Linked DNA regions of Homo sapiens: region 2 is linked to region 1. The links are contacts of gene promoters, found by promoter capture Hi-C in human tissues and cell types (Jung and others, 2019). All regions are on one chromosome and are shown on one strand. Each heading gives the region's core, a stretch centred on a gene start or on the middle of the fragment in contact. The rest is flanking DNA. Distances are from core to core; before and after follow the strand shown.

Region 1 (3,354 bases), core at 316-2,815:
GGTGATCCACCTGCCTCAGCCTTCCAAAGTGCTGGGATTACAGGCTTGAGACACTGCGCCCGGCCTCATTTTCTTCTTTTGAACAATTTCCTCCTGATTAGGGGTGGGGTTACCGATCAGACATTTTGAACATCTTTCTGACTCTTGACAATTTTGCATGTCACAAGATCTGTTGTCCTTGGCCCTAGCCTCTGCAAAGCCAGACCCTAAGGGCTGGCCCCTCTGACATCTCCCTTCCTCCAGCTTTGCGGTCACCCTTTTCACCTGGGGCCTCTGCCTCAGCCTCCTGCCTCTCCTCTCCACAGCCCACTCCTTCTCCTGCCCACAGGCCTGCGGGCTTCCCCTCCCCAGGCAAGCTGGGGCCGTGTCGCAGCGCTTGGCCATCACGACTTTGCCATTGCCAATGCAATCTGGCTCACTGGCATGCACTGTGCTTACCTTAGCCTCAGGGTGTCCTGCATAGGTCCCCAGGAAGATAAACCCTGGGTGATGTGTCATTTTCCCCTTTCCGTTCCTTCCCACGCCCTTCCCCCCACCTCCCCGCGTAGGCAGCGCATCTAGTTGGCACTCCATAAATATCCAAAGTATTTACAAAATAACGTAGAAGTTCTATGCTGTTTAGTTAGATCTCTTAAGGTTGATAATGTACAAGGCAATTTGCATCAGGAGCAGACGAGATAGGGCCCGGCAGATATAAATTAAAAATGCAATTGCACGCATTCATTCAACGAGAACTCACTGAGCAACTACTATGTGCCAACATTATCCACTGCAGTGAATAAAAGACAAACAAACAAGCAAATAACAAAAAAAAAAACAAAAGAGCAAGAAAGTGGCCGGGTGCAGTGGCTCACCGCTGTAATCCCAGCACTTTGGAAGGTCGAGAAAGGAGGATCGCTTGAGGCCACGAGTTCAAGACCAGACTGGGCAACATCATAGTGAGACCTCGTCTCTACAAAAATTAAAAAATTAGTCGGGGGTGGTGCGCCCAGCTCTACTCGGGAGGCTGAGGTGGGAGGATCGCTTGAGCCCAGGAACTGTAGGCTGCAGTGAGCCAGGATCGCACAACTGCACCACAGCCTGGGCAGCAGAACGAGAAATAAATAAACAAATAAAAGCCAGAAAGTAAAAATAAAGTGTTAGATGGCGATTCGAGCTGAGGAGGAAATCAGGCAGGGGAAAGAATCTGAAAGCGAGGAGTGAGTGGCTGGCAAGGCTCCTTCGGAAGGTGGCAATAACAGTCATAGACCGGTCACATCAATTGGGTGTTTACTGCGGGCCAGTGTGTGCCACCAACCTCACACCCGAAAGCCACAAAGACTCACGCCACAACGCAACGAGGCAGGGGCTCCTCCTCCTCCCTTGGTATACGGAAAGAAGCGTAGGGAGCAGAGTTGGGATGCTAGTCAGTACCCCCCTGCACCTAGCCCTTGCCCCTCCGTCTGGCTTTCCCCACTCCCGCTCCGGCGGAGCTAAGGTTAACATTAGACGAGGCTGTGGCTACCGGAAAGAGCGCAGGCGCAGAGCGCGGAATGCGCCTGCGCAGAGCGCTGGGCGACGTGGCCAGTCGGGGCCCGGAAGTGGTCCCTGTAGAACCACTGTGGCACCGCTACTCCGTGCCGCGCCCGTCGAGCATTGCGTTGCTGCATTGCGCCCCACCGACTCCACTATGTTGAAGAAATTCGACAAGAAGGATGAGGAGTCAGGTGAGGGGGCCAGGCCTGGGTCTGAGGGAGGCCGGACCCCCACCCGCCGAGCTTTCCTTCTGGTTCTCTGTCCTGACCCGGAGGCTGAGGCCCAGTGAGGGGCAGGGGCTTGTGCCAGGGTCCACAGCTAGTCAGTGGCAGGCCTCGGAGAGCCCGAGCATGCGCGGCTGTCTCACTCTTGTAAGCTCGGACTGCAATTTTCTGGGTGACCTTGGGCGCGACAAACACCCCCCCCCCCAGGCCTCAATTTACCCATCTGTCAAAGGAGGGGACCATGCCGAATGTTCTCTTGTTACTTTCTTCGTCCAACCTCTTGGGATTCGCTGGGGCTACGTTGGTGCTGGCCAAACTGGGGTGTAACCTGCGGAGCCAGCGTCCTGTGACTGGGAACTCTGACCCCATCATTCATTTATTCAGCAAAGTATATTGAGCAGTTACTGTATGCCAGGTACTGTACGGTGTCCTGGATACTGCAACAGAGCAAGTGGGACACTCAGTGCCTGAGCTAGGAATATTAGAATGGTTGCACCCACGATGGAGGAGGCAGACATCAACCAGATAATCACACGTGTAATTATTTGCAAATGTGTCATCTGCTATGAAGGAACTAGTTACAACGAGATGGTGGTCCCTGGCACATAGGGACTTAGTTAATTACAAGTTATATAAATGAACACAAGACATGGCACCATGAGAAGCACAGGACTGTACCAGGGCTGCTGGGAGATTGTGAGTGGTTTGGGGTAGAGTGGAGCCCACCTGCTTGCAGGAGACTAGTAGGATCCCTAGACAGATTGTAGAGGCTTGATTGCCATTCCTGAGGAGTTTGAACTTTACTAGATTTCCTAGGAAGGGACATCTTCCCTTTACCTATGTCTGGGAGAGTTTTGAAGTTCAGAGTCACAACCTACCTTCTCCATTGTCCTTGACCGTAGGTGGAGGCTCCAACCCATTCCAGCACCTTGAGAAGAGTGCGGTACTCCAGGAGGCAAGTGACATTTGCTCCCCTCTAGCTTCCATCATAAATATTCACCACCAATGCAACTGAAATACCAACACATTCAAAGTGTTGTTTTAAAGAGCAACACGGGAGAAAACTTGTGCCTGGAAGTTTTCTGGAAGACAGGAAAACTTTGTTTCTGGAGAGAGTTAGTTATGCTTACTTCTTTTTTTTTTTTTTTTTTTTTTTTTTTCTGAGACAGAGTCTTGCTCTGTCGCTCAGGCTGGAGTGCAGTGGCGTGATCTCGGCTCACTGCAAGCTCCGCCTTCCAGGTTCACGCCATTCTCCTGCCTCAGCCTCCCAAGTAGCTGGGACTACAGACGCCCGCCACCACACCCGGCTAATTTTTTGTATTTTTAGTAGAGACGGGGTTTCACCGCGTTAGCCAGGACGGTCTTGATCTCCTGACCTCGTGATCCACCCGCCTCGGCCTCCCAAAGTGCTGGGATTACAGGCTTGAGCCACCGCGCCTGGCCTCTCTATTTAAACATTTAAAAAATTTCTCTATTTAAAGTTAATTCCAAAGCTAAGGAAACTGGTTTAAAACTATCACCTAAGCTAGACTGTGGCCATTATGCAGGTAGAGATTTTGCATGACTTGTTTATTTTTATTATATATATTTTTTATATATATATATATATGTATTT
Region 2 (3,354 bases), core at 289-2,788, 47 kb before region 1:
TAGCGTTGCCAGATATCTGACCTTTTGGCAGAAGTTAAAATTCTTGATATTTTTGAGAATCTTCTAATTTTCAACTGTTGGCAACTTATTTAAAAGATTGTTCTGGCCAAATGAAACCCATTAGCAGGATGGATTTTGCCCACAGACCACTGGTGACTGATGACACATTTTCAAGCTTTACCCCTCACGTCTTTCTCTCTCGTTTTTTTTTTTTTGTTTGTTTGTTTGTTTTAAGATGGAGTTTCACTCTTGTTGCTCAGGCTGGAGTGCAATGGCACAATCTCGGGTCACTGCAAACTCCGCCTCCCAGGATCAAGCAATTCTCCTGCCTCAGCCTCCCAAATAGCTGGGATTACAGGCATGTGCCACCACGCCCAGCTAATTTTGTATTTTTTTTTTTTAGTAGAGATGGGGTTTCACCATGTTGGCCAGGCTGGTTTCTAACTCCTGACCTCAGATAATCCACCCGCTTTGGCCTCCCAAAGTGCTGGGATTACAGGTGTGAGCCACCACACCCAGCCCTCACCTCCTTTTTGAATTTGGGACTTGTATCTTTACTTAAAATTTGGATAGATTAAACCGGGCATTTCCACACACTGTTCAAATACAACTCATTTAAACTACAATGTACTTTACCAAATATACAAACAAGCAAACAAAACCAGCTTATCATTTTAAAGTCTGTGTCAGCCACCACTCATCTGTTAGTCCAGATTAGAAGCCTTGGAGTCATCTGTGGTCCTTCTCTCTACTTTGTCTCTCACCTGCAATTCCTTCCTTAAGCACCAAATGCCAGGTATTAAGCTAAACACTGAGGATACAAAGCTTAGCCAGTGGTGGTGTGGGTGCTTGTACTCCCAGCTTACTTAGGAGGCCAAGGCAGGAGGATTGCTTGAGCCCAACAGGTCAAGTCTGCAGTGACCCATGATCGTGCCACTGCACTCCAGCCTGGACAACAGAGTGAAACCCTGTCTCTAAAAAGTAAAATATAAAAATAAAACTAAAGTTGAAAAGACAGCCCAGGCCAGGCTCTGCAGCTGTTAATGTCTATGGGTAGAAGGCAACAAGTATTTACAAAACAGTATTTACCAAGTATTATAACAGACATATACAAAATGCCACATGATCTTGTTTAATCCACACAATAATCTTGTGAAATAGTGTCTTTTTAATAACAGCTTTATTGAGATATAATTGACATACCATAAAAGCCACCCTTTTAAAATGTACAATTCAGTAGGTTTTAGTACATTCATAGTGCCATGACATCAAATTAGTTGTTATCACTAATTCCAGAACATTGGGTTTTTTAAAAATTTTGATAGAGATGAAGTTTCACTGTGTTGCTCAGGCTGGTCTCAAACTCCTGAGTAAAGTGATGCAAAGTGCCTTGGCCTCCCAAAGTGCTGAGATTACAGGTGTGAGCCATGGTGGCCAGCCCAGAACATTGTTTTGAGCAGTTTTAAGTTCATAGCAAAATTGAGCAGAAAGTACAGAGTTCCCATTCATTCCCTGCCCCCACACATGCATAAACAAGGATCAGCATCTCCACTAGAGTGATAGATTTGTTACAATCAATGAACTTTCACTGATTCATCATTACCCCCAAAAGTTCATAATTTACATTAGGGTTCACTCTTGGTGCCATACATTATATGGGTTTGGACAAAAGTATAACGATATGTATCCACTTTTGTAGTATCATACAGAGTGGTTGTCACTGCCCCCAAAATCTCTGTGCTCTGCCTATTCATCACTCTCTCCTAATCCTTGGCAACCTGGACTTCTCCGTATTTTTGCTTTTCCAGACTGTTATGTACAGTATTTGGAATCACACAGTATGTAGCCTTTTCAGATTGGCATCTTTCACTTAGTGATACGCGTTTATGGGTCCTCCATGTCTTTTCATGTCTTGATAGTTCATTTTTTAGTGCTGAATGCTATTCCATTGTCTGAATGTACTACAGTTTATCCATTCACCTGCTGAAGGACATCTTGGTGGCTTCCAAGTTTTGACAATCATGAATAAAGCTGGTATAAGCATCTGTGTGCAGGTTTTTTGTGGACATATTTTCAGTTCATTTGGTTAAATAACCACAAAGCAAATTGCTGGTTCATATGGTAGGAGTATATTTAATTTTTGTAAGAAACTGCCAAATTGTCTTCCAAAGTGTCTGTACCATTTGCCCTTCCCCTGAGCAATGAATGAGAGTTCCTGTTGCTCAACATCCTTGTCAGCATTTGATATTGTCAGTGTTTTAGATTTTGGCCATTCTAATAGATGTGTAATAGTATCTCATTTTTGTTTTAATTTGCAATTCCCTAAGGGCATATGATATATAGTTTGGATATTTGTCGCCACTCAAATCTCATGTTGAAATGTAATCCCTAATGTTGGAGGTGGGGCCTGGTGGAGGGGTTTGGGTCATGGGGCAGATCCCTCATGGCTTGGTGCTGTCCTTGCAATGGTGAGTGAGTTATCATAAGATTGGTTGTTTAAGCGTGTGGCACCTTCCCCCTACACTGTCTTGCTCCTGCCTTCACCATGTGATGATGTGCCTGCTCCTGCTTCACCTTCCATCATGAGTGAAAGCTCCCCGAGGCCTCCCCAGAAGCTGATAAGATAGATGCTGGTGCCATGCTTGTACAGCCTACAGAACTGTGAGAAATTAAACCTCTTTTCTCAATAAAATACCCAGTCTCAGGTATTTCTTTTCTTTCTTTTTTTTTTTTTTTTGAGATGGAGTCTCACTCTGTCGTCCAGGCTGGAGTGTGGTGGCGCAATGTTGGCTCACTGCAACCTTCACCTCCCAGGGTCAAGTGATTCTCCTGCCTCAGCCTCCCAAGTAGCTGGGATTACAAGTGCATGCCACCATGCCCAGCTAATTTTTGTATTATTAATAAAGATGGGGTTTCACCATGTTGGCCAGGCTGGTTTTGAACTTCTGGCCTCAAGTGATCCTCCTATGTTGACCTCCCAAACTGCTGGGATTATAGGTGTGAGCCACCATGCCCAGCCTGGCTACTTTTAAGTTTCCATTTCTCTCCAGCAATAACTAATCTTTTCATTCATTATGTCTGTTGTAACCTTTAACATATTGATAATAGTTGCTTTATATTTAAATTTTTGTTAATTTATTTAGAGATGGGATCTTGCTCTGTTGCCCAGGCTGGAATGCAGTGGTACAGTCATGGCTCACTACAGCCCTAAACTCCAGGAGTCAGGTAATCTTCCTGCCTCAGCCTCCTGAGTAGTTGGGACTACAGGCAGGAGCCACTGTGCCCAGAGTGTCCTCATACCTTAAATGCACAATTTCTGTTGCTTACAGTCCAATAACCATTACTGAGTGCTAT

Evidence for each region. Contacts are between HindIII fragments. The study calls those that stand out against the background at their distance.
Region 2: a contact is called between a fragment that was not itself captured here and the fragment with the promoter of COPG1 in region 1, in 2 of the 25 tissues and cell types used here (aorta and hippocampus).

Annotation. Positions count from the first base shown.
Region 1 is chr3:129,248,041-129,251,394 of GRCh38, forward strand. It overlaps COPG1 (coat protein complex I subunit gamma 1), which reads left to right and starts at 1,566. Exons shown (of 24, transcript NM_016128.4): 1 at 1,566-1,706; 2 at 2,642-2,694. The coding sequence starts at 1,670. The HindIII fragment of the contact is 12,995 bases long and covers 1-3,354 here.
Region 2 is chr3:129,200,707-129,204,060 of GRCh38, forward strand. No RefSeq gene overlaps it. Among named protein-coding and RNA genes, the nearest start is that of CNBP, 18 kb to the left of the region's middle. The HindIII fragment of the contact is 6,057 bases long and covers 1-3,354 here.